Regions from separate parts of the Homo sapiens genome. Here all the other regions are linked to region 1. Evidence: promoter capture Hi-C in 16 types of primary human blood cells and fetal thymus (Javierre and others, 2016). All regions are on one chromosome and are shown on one strand. Each heading gives the region's core, a stretch centred on a gene start or on the middle of the fragment in contact. The rest is flanking DNA. Distances are from core to core; before and after follow the strand shown.

Evidence for each region. The method cuts DNA at HindIII sites, captures the fragments that hold promoters and counts their contacts. A CHiCAGO score of 5 or more calls a contact.
Region 2: a contact is called between a fragment that was not itself captured here and the fragment with the promoter of TNS1 in region 1, in 1 of 17 cell types (M2 macrophages). The highest score is 6.3, in M2 macrophages.
Region 3: a fragment that was not itself captured here is called in contact with the fragment with the promoter of TNS1 in region 1 in 2 of 17 cell types (megakaryocytes and M2 macrophages); the score reaches 6.2 in megakaryocytes.

Annotation. Positions count from the first base shown.
Region 1 is chr2:218,000,982-218,005,272 of GRCh38, forward strand. It overlaps TNS1 (tensin 1), which reads right to left and starts at 2,014. Exons shown (of 33, transcript NM_001387777.1): 1 at 1,859-2,014. The coding sequence starts at 1,891. RefSeq lists enhancers at 458-958, 959-1,459, 3,200-3,299. The HindIII fragment of the contact is 26,666 bases long and covers 1-4,291 here.
Region 2 is chr2:217,877,695-217,881,985 of GRCh38, forward strand. It overlaps TNS1 (tensin 1), which reads right to left. Exons shown (of 33, transcript NM_001387777.1): 18 at 3,204-3,320. Among named protein-coding and RNA genes, the nearest start is that of MIR6809, 21 kb to the right of the region's middle. The HindIII fragment of the contact is 295 bases long and covers 2,398-2,692 here.
Region 3 is chr2:217,895,357-217,899,647 of GRCh38, forward strand. TNS1 (tensin 1) reads right to left here. Exons shown (of 33, transcript NM_001387777.1): 8 at 2,442-2,613. Among named protein-coding and RNA genes, the nearest start is that of MIR6809, 3.1 kb to the right of the region's middle. The HindIII fragment of the contact is 4,504 bases long and covers 1-3,968 here.

The DNA.
Region 1 (4,291 bases), core at 764-3,263:
TCTCTACTAAAAATATAAAAAATTAGCTGGACATGTTGGCACGCACTTGTAGTCCCAGCTACTCGGGAGGCTGAGGCAGGAGAATTGCTTGGACCCAGGAGGTAGAGGTTATAGTGAGCCAAGATCATGCCATTGCACTCCAGCCTGGGTGACAGAGTGAGACTCCATCTCAATTAAAAAAAAAATGAATAAATAAAAATAAAGACACTCAAGGAAGCAGCACTCACAGCTGCCTTGGTCCCCAGACTCTTCCCCTTACTCTCAGGGAGGGTATAACACCCATAGGGCACTCTACCTGCCAGGCACTGCCCTGGGGAATTGGATACAAAATTTCATCCCTACCTCTCTGTACCCTGTTTCTCTGCAATCCTCATTTCACCAACGGGAAAGCAGAGGCTCACCAGGATGAGGCACTTTTCCCAGTATCAGTCAGCTGAAGGGATCTATAGAGCCCTCTCTCCAGTCACAGCAGCTCGTCACCCCTGGAGGTCTACCTGCCATCCTTCTTGTGTCACCCCTGGACGTCTACCTGCCATCCTTCTTGCTGCAGAGCTCCCTCCTGCCTACCTCTGTCCTCAGCACAGAGACGAACCTGGCCAAGGCTCCCATTTCCCAGATGTCAACACCAGCCCAGTAAACCACAAATGCATCCTGTGTGCAGGCCTCCCCAGTCACTCTCAATCTATTAATCCAATCCATCCCAGCACCCCAGCCCAACATGCCACCCAAACCGCCTCATTCCAGGCCCCCTCCCCCACCCTTTCTTTCTTTGCCCAGAGGACACCTGGCTGCCCGAGTTTGTGTTCCCACAACTGCCCCCAGCATGGGCTTGCCTGGGCCAAGAGGGCCCTCCCGAGGACTGGCCAGAACAAGGAAAGGGACAGGAAAGGCCACATCTGGATCACAGCCCTGAAGCCCCCTCCCCCAAACCAGCCATCACTCTCTCAGAGCCCAACAGTAACCTCAGCCAGGGACGACTTCCTCACCCTCCTGACCCCATGCATGCCTTTGCCTGGCCAAGACAGCCCCACAGGAGCCCCTCTGAGGAAGGGGTCCTCTCCTCCTCTGACCCCCAGCCCTTCTGCAGCAGGCAGCCCTCTCCCATCCCCCTTTACCCAGGAGCCTCAGCCCAGGTCTGGCCTTAAGACTTTTAACCTTCACCACGTGGCCCCCAGGCCTCTCTGCTGGCCCCCCTGGCATCCCCATCCTGAAACCCACCTCCCTGAACCTGGAGCCAAGAGAGAAAGGGGGAAGAGCGGGCCATGGCTCCCTCCTCCAGGATGGAGAGGTCTTGGTAGCAGGGGAGGGCTGTGGAGGAAGGGATGGCAGTGGGTGGAAGCTGAAACTGGGTGTAGAAGGAATAAAAGGGATGGACTCTGAGAATTCTCCCACAGCCCAGCTCTTCCAGACTTAATATTTTGGACTACTATTCTTTGCTCCCCAGCCCCACCACTGCCTCCTCCTCAAGATCTTGGGCTCAGCAACTGAGGGGGGGCGGTGAAGAATTTTCACCCCATTGTAGGATGCAAGTCGGGAGGAAAGGCTCTAAAGAGAAGCAAACTTCTCTGTGGCCTCCTTCCACTTACAGCTCTGGGACTCCATTGGGGGGTGGGGGGGTGGGGCAGGGGATGTACTGACCCGGGACCCTGGGCCTGGGCCCTGTTGGTGGGGAAAGTCTTCCGGCTGAGGGTTGCTCAAGTCAGTCTGTCCTTCTGTAGGTCAGAGACAGAAAGGCCCCTCCTTCAAGACTGACACCCCCCGACCCCGGGCTCTCAGCAAAAGGATAAGGTGGCAGGGGCCGGTGGGGGGCGGGGGGTTTGAGGAAGAGTAACGTCGCAGCTAAAGCAGCCAGACCTACCCAGAGCATGCAGGACAGACAGATCCACGTCATCTTTGCTGGGTCCCGTCACTGAGGCACGCCCAGGGCCTGTGAAGAGCCCCTGAAGCTAGAGTCCCCGCGGCGCTGGCAGAAGGGCTCTCTGAGTCCGCGGCTGCTCCGGCTCCGCCAGCATCTGCTGGGCCTCTCGCCCTGCTGCCTCCAGCTCACCCTCCCTCCTCCTCCTCCTCCCCCCACTCCACCCCTCGTCCCAGCCTCCTCTCTCCTCCCTCCTCCCAGGCTCCACCGGTGGCCTTGAGGGTCAGGAACCCTGCTTTGCAGGGGGTGTAAAGGGGACAGGGAAAAGGGAAAGCTACCAGAGGCAGGGCCCCCCCAGGCCGTGCCCCCCACCCCCGGACACACAACCCCTGTGTGCCACCAAGGCTCCTCAGTCTTCTGATCTGGTGCTGGTAGGCCTGGAGTCCTCCCTCCTCACTGCAGACCCCCGCCCCTGGCAAACCAGCCTGGGGGCCTTCACTCCTGGAACCCTCCAGACCACTGATGGATGAACAGACAGCCCCAGGCCCACACAATCAGCACACTCAGGGTGCCTTGGCCCCTCCCCTTCTCTGAGTACCCGTGCCTGCCTTCCTGGCCTCCTCGGAACACACATGCATTTGCACACACAGACTGGGACAGACTCTGGTGCCCACGCGCCAAGCTCAGAGCCCAGGACAGGCCTTAACACAGAAGAAATAGGGCCCGAGACTGGGGAAGAATGGCCCTGCCCCCAGGCTGTGGGTTTCATTCCAATTTTTTTCCTATTTCTTTTTTTTTCCCCCTTCTTTCTTTCTTTCCTGCAAACATCTGTCCCAGCCTTTCCTGCCCTTCTGAAAGGGAGCCCCGCTCCAGGCTCCCGCGAGAGTGTGTTTTTCTTGACTGTACCCGGGGCCAACATTTGGTTTGCATTTCCCCACTTCCTCCCCCTCCTCCCCTCTCCCCCTCCCTGGGCCCAGTTCTCCCCTCCCACCATTCCACAGGCCTATTTCTTCCCCTCAGTGTCCCCTGCCCACCAGCCCTCCCCTCCCCTCGCCCCCACCTCTGCCCAGGGACAATTGTTGGGGGTCTAGAGGGTGGAAAGGAGGCTGGGTCAAAACCCAAAAGTATTCCCACGGAGCACTAAGGGGGAATCCAGCAAAGTCTGCCCCAGGCCTTCATTGTCTGGAACCACCACGTTCCCCTCCAAAAAAAACCCTTCCTCTTTGAGCTCTGGCCTTGGCTGGACCAACTGAGGGTGGGTGGGGGCCAGTGAATCACCCGCTCTGTTCTTTGGAGCTGTCCAGGAGAAGGAGGGAGGGCTCAGCCCCACACCCTCCTGTGGACACACACACACACAAGGACACAGTCCAACTCACGTCAACACATAAGAGCCCTCCCAGAGTAGGCACTTGGAGACCTCGTTCCTAGACTGAGTCACTTAGCAAGAAAAGTTCTCTTGCCTGGCCTCCTATGCACACTGTGCTATACATGCCCTGGGGCCACATGCACGAAGGGTTACAGATCCCCTGCCTCCCCCCCCCACTCACCCAAGGCCATGCCATGCCGCTGTCTGTCAGCACCACATACCGTGCAACTACCAGCCTCCTCTTTCACAGGGATCTGCCCAGCCACTTGTGCCAACTCCCAGCCCAGGGACCACCCAAGACATCTACCTGGGAAACCCCAGAATGAAGGGGAAACACTGACTCTTCATCTGAAAAAAAGACTGCAGTATTCAGATACACAGGTTGTCCACAGCACAAGGGACTAACCATCTATTGTTTGGTGGTTCTGAGAAGTCAGGGGAGGACACTGAAGTGAAGTGTCAATTTCCAGCCCTTCCTAAAGCAGGTACCTGAGTGAAGAGTCTTTGTTCCGGTAGAGGAGTCAGGGTCCTCTCTCCATACTTCTCCAAGTCCTCCAGAGCTCTGGGGCTGGGAAAGATCCTGCCTCTAGTGTCCTTCCCTGCCAGGATCACAATGTCCCTCTGGACCCCCTACTCTAAGCCTCCTGGGGCTTCACTGACATTTTAGCCAACGCTGAAATGAACCAGTGTTCCACATGCAGTTGGCCCTGCAGTCACAGCTGGGGATGTCCATAGACAGAAACCTCTGCAAACCCTCCCGTCTCCCCTGGCTGGAGCACCAGGCAAGCAAAGGGGAGTGGTCTTCAGGAGGCCTCTCTGAGAGCCCCTGAGCCCCTCCTCAGCCACTATCACCAGCTCTGCCAGGCTGCCCTTGTCCCCTGACAAGTTCAAGCCTTCAGCCAGCTAAGCCCTGACATCCCAGTGCCCACTCACACCAAGCTCCCCGCTGCCTGCTCCCACAGCCCTTCACTGCTGGCGTCACTGAAGACGCCTCCAGGCAGCTTTCTCTGGAGTTCTGAGAAGTCACCTTGGGGCTTCCCAGAAATGCTGGAAAATCAAACCAAAAACCA
Region 2 (4,291 bases), core at 1,295-3,794, 120 kb before region 1:
GGAAAGGGTTAAATGCAGAGCAGTTCCTGAGATGATGGTTAAGTCAGGGGCAGCAGGAGGGCCTCCTGGGGGACCAGGAGCTCTGAGCCTGGTGCTGGCCATGCCTCACTGCCAGGAGAGGGCAAGGTGGGGACACAGGCCACACGAGAGGATGCAGGCCAGAGATGACATCTGCTGCTGACTGCCTGGCTGGGTGCTCCCTGCCCCCCTCCTCCAAGTCTCCTGGTGGGCTCCAGAGGGAATGGTCTGGCCTCTACTATCACCCTCCCGCAGTGGGCCTGAAATAGAAGAGGTAGGCAGGGGGCCACTTTCAGAAATGGCCCCAGGTCACCTTGGACACCCTTCCCTCTACCTATTTCGAGAGGCCTGCCACTCATCAGAAGCATTCCTGAGTGAGCGGCCCACACTCTTCTCTGTGGGTCGGGCCAGGGGCTCAGCTGTTGCCTGCACTGAAGTCTTGCTGAACGCCTGCCTCAGGGCAAGCCCAGTGGCCTCCGGGGTGCCACGCTCCAGCACACCCCCCTCGCCTAACCCTCCCTCTTCCTAACAGTCAGGATGGGTTGACTTTCTCTGTCCATGGGTGAGAGGTAGCAGCCAGAGAGGTACTAGGCTTAGTGGGACCCAGGTACTGCCACAAAACCAGATGCCCAAAGCAGGCCCCTAGGGACGTCAGCCAACCCAGGACAGCACAGGGGGCAACGCGGTGGCTTGAAACCCAGATCTGCTCTTGACTGGCTTGGCAAGCTGGGGCAGGTTACTTAACCCCTCTGTGCTCCAGTTTCCCCATTTGGACATAATAAGAGTCATAGAATGGCTGGGAGCATCAAATGAAATGGCAACTACCAAGTTCTTGGTGCCATGGCTGGTGCATGGTAAATCCAGGCCTTCTCCCTTAGCCATGTCTTGCAGGCGCCTGACACACTGGCCACAGCTGACACAAATGTGTCACGGACCCCCAAGAAAACACCACATGCAGTCCTTCCTCAGGCCGTGCTGCCCACAAGGGGCTCAAAATGATTTGTTGACTGAATTCCCATTTTACAGCAGGTCAAACCGAGGCCCCAAGGACAGTACCTTGTCAAAGGATTTGAAGCCAGGTAGTTTGGCTGCAGAGGCTGCATTCTTAACCACATACTAACTGCCTCTCATGAAGGCCGCTATAGGCAGGTAGAGGGGACAGAGGGTTGGTGAGGGAAGGCCCTGGCCGCTTCTTCTGCCCCCTCGCCCTTCCTTTTTTCCCTTCTAATCCATTCCCTCAGACAGAGGGATGGAACCAGCAGGACCTTTTGGTCAGTTAAAGGTCAGCTCATCCTGCAAGGACAGAGGGGCCCTGTCTGGAGGCTGAGAAGCTGGCCCTCTGCCGAGAGGGGGAGCCGCTCTCGGCTCTGCTGTCCCTGGGCTGCCTCCCACTCTGACCGTCTGCTCTTCTTCCTTCCCCCACAGCCAAATACATCCTAAGCCCCGTCTTTCCCACATCTCCTCCTCACCGTTAATTATTTTACCTTTTATTTGCCTGGCACTTTATAGTTTACTAAATGTTTTTACATTTATCATCGCATTGACCATGCACCAAGAAGAGATGGAGAGACAGTAAAAATTCTTTCCAATTGCCAAATGTTCTTGTTAAAAATGCAAACATCCCCAGCACAACGACCAATTAGGCTGGCAGCCACTGAAACCTCAGAACAAATTCGCTCCAGCCTCTGCTTTCTGCTTGGCCGCTCAGCGCCCGGGGATGGAGGAGTGCTTTTCACAAGCAGCCTGGGGGGTCGGAGGGGCCTGGTGGGGTGTCTTGGCCAATCTGAGGGTGCTGGGCCCCTGGGGGAGGAAAAGGGGTTGGGAACTGAGGCAGGTGTGAGGACAGGCCATCCACTTTTCAATGTTGCACGTAAAAAAATGTGCTCTCAGTGAGTCCCCAAATTCTAGTCCAACCACCCTCCCTCATCCCACTTCTCTCTGAAACCTTGTGCTCATTCTGGTGACCCCAAGGTCAGAGGAGAAATCTTTATTCAAGGAAAGGCCCAAAGATTTTCAGAGAGGAGTCATCAAATCCAAAACCTTGGGGAGGGAGACAGAAGACAGCGCCGTGTAGAGGAAAGAGGGCACAGGGAGGCCCCCAGGCCTACCTATCTCTAACCTAGCTCTGCCATGGGACCCAGGGGCCCCAGGATGGCACAGCCCCACCCAGGACTGGCTTCAGCTGGGAGGAGAAGCCAGACGCTGGGTGCTGGCATCCTTGAAAGGGCCATCCTGGGTCACGGGGGTAAATCAGGAGGTTCTGCCTCTGGGAAGGGTCTCAGTCACCCCAACTGAACACAGATGGGTGATGGGCTGGACCATCCTGAAGGTCCTCCCAGCTCCAACATTCTGCAGTCCTACGACCAACTCAAGAAAAGAAGCTTGTGGCCAAACCCCAGGCAGGGCATCTCAAGAGTTCCTGGGCTCTGGGCATGCTCACTTTCGGAGCCCGCCCCACGTCTCCTTACACATATGCAGATAGACCACATAAATAAATAGAATGCATGTAGAACTCTCAAGAGACGACCTGAGTTGCAGTGGACCATTTGACATAATGTTAGGTTTGTAGCTAAATTAAACATGTATTAATTTCAATTCTGCTGCTTTCTTTTCAAATTTCAGAGCCTATCAGTTTGTTCCCAGCTCTCAAACATTTTTGTTGGCTGTTGATGAAAGCTTGTAGGCCCTAGATCCTGTGCCTCTGTTCCTAGTACTCTGACCCCAGAGAACTCAGGCAGCAAGCCTGAAGAAACCCAACAGTGGGTTTAATACACATGTGACAAATGCTGTTTTTGCAGCACAGTGGGGGGTATCTCAAGCTCCACTCAAGGCCACATCCTCCAAGGAGCCTTCCCAGATCACTCCAGCTCTCAAAATCCCTCCCTGCCAATCCCAGAGAACTCACTGTCCACGGAACTTACTTGGCTGTAGCAACACACTTCCACGATAACCCCCTTGTGGCCATTTTGCTGCCTTCTTTGGCTCTGTCCTCACTTTTATTTAATACATTCATATATGTGCCTTATCTTCCCCCAGTTAACGGTGAGCTCTCGGAGGTACCTCACACTTCCCCTCTGCCTCCTCTCGAACCCAGATCTCTTGAAAGCAGGCCAAGAGAAGCAAGGTCATGTGAGCAGAGGCTGTGCAGTTTGGATAGGGGCTGGGAGCCACTAGGTCCCACCTACCCTCCATGCCGTCATCTCGATGCCCACTGAAGTTGTCGTAGGAGTCCCAGCGGATGAGGGGGTCGGAGGTGTTATAGTCCACAGACACGCTCGGCCCGTTCTCCAGGTGCTCCATGCCTAAGTGGGATGGGAAAGGCAGCGGCAGTCGGGGAGACAGTGCAGAGAGGGAAAAGAGATCAGCAGCTGGAAAAACAGAGAAAGCCCACAAGCTCCCCAAAAGAGGCTCCCTGAGGGACTTCTCATTTTCTTGAGCGTGGTGGGCGGGACCAGTGGCTTAAGCTGGACTGAGAACTGGGAGTCTAGTTTCTCACATTCTTGAAAAGGCTCATGCCGGGTCATAGGGGTAAATCAGGACAGGCACTGAAGAATGAAGACCCCCTGGAAGAAAGCGGGGAGGACCCCTGGCTGGGTACCTGCCTCTTTTTCTTCTGTGTCCCTGGGGCTCCTGAGGCAGTGCCAAGAGACTAGAAAGTCTGCCCCTGGGGTCAGACCCTGGGGGTGGGGGGCAGGCTGCTTATGAGCTACGTGGGATCAGGGACAGCAGGGAAATCACAGCCCCGACATTGAAAGGACATAAAGCCTCCAAAGGGTCATCCCAGGCATGGCCCTGCCCCCTCTTAAAACGCTCTCCGCTCCAGACAGAAACCTAGGGGGCACGGCAGAATCTCCCAGCCATCCACAGAAAACCCAGCTCAGCATTGGGACAAATACCTAATGCATGCAGAGCTTAAAAGTAGACGATGGGTTGACAGGTGCAGCAAACCACCATGGCACATATATGCCTATGTAACAAATCTGCACATTCAGCACGTGTATCCCAGAACTTAAGGTAAAATAAAAATAAATAAGTAAATTTTTAAAAACCTGGCTCAAAGACAGCATAGCTCCTAGTCAAGTCTGTCAGGGTGAGTTACCTTCCTGGCTTGGCAGTCCTTTCTTTAGTCTATCCAGAGTCCCTCTGCCCATAACCTAACTTCATCTCCTTTCATTCCATTCTCGAATAAGATGGTGAACAACTGGTCTCCACTTATAACCAGTATAGAGGCTTCAAGGTTATTATTAAACCAGCCTTCAGGTTGAATCACCTC
Region 3 (4,291 bases), core at 467-2,966, 110 kb before region 1:
GAACTCAACTGTAGGTCCTCAGGATGAAAAGGGAGAGAGAGAGAGATGTAGACACTCAGCCACCCTGTTCCGTGAGCGGATGTCCCGAATGGAAGACGAGAAGGGGATGGAACTTGTCTCCAGTTCCGCTTGCCTCTCACCACACCGAACGGGAATCCAGCTGTGTGAGATGATAAGTAGTTGGCAATCTCTGGTTTCCACTTCATACCTTGACCCTAGAACCTCATCCCATGAGGTTGCAACCTCTCTGTCACCAGACTTCCTCCATCAGAGGGGCAAACCATCCTGGGTGGGCCCAATCAGACCCTTGACATACCTCTCCCAGCACATGCCTTTCAACGCCTGACCACTGGGGTCCCATTCCTGACCACTGGAATCCTAAGGAATTCTCCAGTCTCTGGAATTCCTGCCTCTACCTCCGAGGGGGGCATGCAGAACTTCCCACCTCCACCCCACTGCCTAGGAAACTCAAAGGCACTGTGTCATCTCCTGGGGAGAAAAGGGGACAGCCCAGTCTGGAATAGGCAGGATAGAGAGAGGGGTGGCAGGGCACCAAGTCCCATAGAACCCTGGACTCCTAAAATCAGAAATAGGTGGATTTGCATCCACTCTTGCACTCTGTAAAGGAATACACTTTATTATGGTACAATAGCCATCACTCAATGAATGTCTGCCACCTGTCAGCCTGTCTTAAGGACTTTACATCTAACAGCTGGCTTAATTCTCTCAACAACAATAAGAGGTAGACCTCAGACCCACTTTACGGACACAGAAGCTAGGGCTTAGTGAGGCTAAACAGCTAAGATCATGTAGTTAGTAAAGGCAGAGCCAGAATTTGAACCCAGGACTTTCTGAGGTTTAAAGCCAAGCTCTTAACAATGCCCCAATGCAGCTAACAGGTGGGTCTCTATAGTGGTTGAATAGTATCCTCAAAACGTCATGTCCACCCAGAACTTCAGAATACAACCTTATTTGGAAATAGTGCCTTTGCCAGTGTAAGTAGTTAAGGATCTCAATATGACATCAACCTGGATCTAGGGTGGACCCTAAGTCCAATAATTGATGTCCTTGTAGGAAGAGAAGACACACAGAGAGACACTGAAGAAGGCCACGTGGAGATGGAGGTAGAGATTGGAGTGATGCGCTACAAACCAAGGAATCCCACCGCAAGCTAGGAAAAGGCAAGAAGGGATTCTCTGCCATAGGATTCAGAGGGAGCATGGCCCCGTCAACACCTTGATTTCAGATTTCCAGCCTTCAGAACTGTGAGAGAATAAATTTCTGTTATTTTGAGCCACCAGATTTGAGGTAGAGTCATCACTTGGTGTCTATGGAGGATTTGGATCTAGGACCCCTCCACCCCGCCATGGATAGTGGATACCAAAATCCATGGGTGCTCAGGTCTCTTACATAAAATATGTACTATTTACATATAACTTGCATATAAAAAATGTACTATTTGCATATAACTTATGCATATACTTCCGTAGACTTTAAATCATCTCTAGGTTACTTGTAATACCTAATACAATATAAACGCTCTGCAAATAGTTGTTCTGCTGTATTGTTTTTATTTGTATTGTTTTTTATTGTTATTTACTGTTGGGTTTTTTCTGAATATTTTCAACTCATGATGGATTGAGTCCAAAGAGGTGAAACCCATGGATAGAAAGGGCCACCTCATTTGCTACAGTGGCCCTGGGAAACTAATGCAGCCTCCTACATCCCACCTCAAACACCCTGGGGACAGCCACCTGAGGTTGTACAGATCAGATCTGTGGGTCCAGTCCACAGGCACCTCCCTCTAAAATGGACCTGAGCCCTCCTCTGGGGCCAAGGACGGATCAGCCTTTCTGCGTTAGTGGAGACCACCGCCAGCACCTCTCTCCCGTGTGCCAAGGTGACTCCTCTGGGCCAGGCCGAGCCAGGTGCCAGCAACCCAGGGTCCCTTAAGACACATGTTGCCAAGACTCTGCCCTCAGACTTCTCAGAGGCACCGACCCTGTGCCAGCTCTGCCACTTCCTGACCCTGCAACCTTAGGCAAATAACCCCACCTCTCTGTGCTCTGGCAAGTGCCTGCTTGCTAGGGCTGCTGCAAAGGTTAAGTGCGTGGAAAGCAGTTGGAACAGGGCCTGGCTAGTAGCAAGCGCTCAATAACCTGAACTCTTATTGGTACTCTCTTCTCCTGGCCAGCACACACATGCACACACAGAGTTCCAGATGCTACATTCCAGCTGCAGCACACTCCTTAGAGGAGAGCTGGGCTGGAGAGTGATTGAAGACTCAGGCACGAGAGCTGCCTGAGGGGAAAGGCAGATAAACAAAGAGAAGAGGGCATGCTGGCACAGGGGCTGGTGGCAGGGATACCAGTCATGTAGAGGTGGTGAGCAGATGGAAGCATAGAGGGCACAGGACAGTGGGCACGAGGATCCATCCTCACCAGGTAGTTGCCTCCATGTTTGGACTTGAGCATCTGCGCCACCTCACGGAGGTTGCTCCGGAAGTTCTCCTCATTGGCTGTGCTGGGGAAGGAGACAGCGATGATCCTCTCTGTGACGTACACCAGGTCCAGCTCACAGCTGTCCTCCATGGTCCGGCTCACACTCATGTTTCTAGGGAGACAGCAGGCAGCGGAGGGTCCATATCAGAATCCAGCCCACAGGGAAGGCCCCAGATAGCTGCACCCCATACACACCCTGTGTGACCCCCATATGCAGCCCAGGGTGCTTGGCTGCTCTTCAACCCAAGGCCAAGGCCACAGGCTTCCTCTGGCAAGGCCAATGTGGCCGGCTTGGGAGTGCCGGCGAGAACAAGCTGGGTAGGGCTGGCAAGGACCTCAGGCCATTTCAGAACCAAACTGTGATGACACCAATTCTTGGTTCCCATCAGTCCTTTGGCCACTGCCTTCAACCTGTGACTCCAGAGCTCAGAGCCAGGGCCAGACTGGCCCAGGAACCCAGGAGCTCTGGCTCCCAACACTGGCTGCCTGGCCAGGCAGAAGTCTCCCGAAAGGCCCCAGACTGCTCTGGAAGAGGAAGGAGAGCCTGCGCTGGGCGCTCTCCAGCCCTGGAACGGAGACTTCCCACTGCCCGCCCCTAGCTCTCGAGCTGTGGAGTGGGCGGGAAACCTCTCAGGGGAGGGGGCATCTCAGGTGACACGTTCACCTGGGTTCCAGGTAAGCCAGACCACAGCACACATTCCAGCCCTCCCGGAGGCAGGCCAACTCCTGCCCTTTGTTCCTTGGCCTTCTCCCCACCTCTGGCAGCTCCCACTGCCTGCCAGAGCTGCTTCTTGGCAGCAGCCTCCCTGATTTCTAAGGGCCCAGAAAACAAGAGGGCACAGAGCCCTTGTTGCTGCAGTGGCGGGCAGCCGCCAGCACCATGCGTTTCCCGGAGAGGTGGGGAGGCCCCTGGGCTGGCCATCCTCTCCACTGGGCACTGGGTGAGGAAGGGAGGGGCTCGCATCTTTACATCTCTCCCAACTTTTCTTCCAGAGGAAGGGTCCAGGATGCCCACTTGGGAAGCCCACCTCTTGCTTCTAGAAGCACCTCCCCCATCCCTCCAGCTTTTTCCCCAATCATTGACCTCCTAGTGTCTCGCTTCCCCCTCTATCAAATGCAGGCAGCACTGACATTTCATTCTGCTAACCTTTCACCACAGCGGGATAAAGTGGAGAGTGGAGGGCAGCGAAAGGAATACCACTGGGGTATTTAAAAGTGATGAGGGCTCTCTGGCACTAGACAGAACAAGCCCCCAGATGCTGAGAAGCCATGAGGAATCCAGACCTCCACCAGGGTTCAATCCCAGTCCAGGTGGGGTGTGGAGATGGGGCAGCCAAGGATGAGGCATGGCAGGACCTCTCTGTTGGGATGACAGGGGCCTGAGTGGGACTGGGGACCAGCACCCAGAGGTAAGGAGCCCGGTTTGAGTTTGACTCTGAGTCCCAGCTACTTCTTGTCCCTATGGAAAGCTTCTCATTGCAGCTGTGGGGGAGAAGTTTCTATCTCAAGCCAACTGCCTACCCAAGGACAGTTCTTGTAGGTGGTGACCAGTCTGGGACAAGAAGCCACACGCACACATACCTGCAAGCAAGTGGGTGTGAGGGCGGGGAGCCTCAGCTAACTTGCAGCATCCCCTCCTCCCCATCCTCCAAAACCCCTCTCTGTTCTGGCTCCAAGGAAGAAACTAGAATGTCAGAAAAACTCGCAAGACAAGCTCCTGTGATTTCAGCCTCTCCCTCAGCACAGGAAGGGGAGCAAGAGGGGCCGTGCTGGTGAGGGCCATGAGTCAG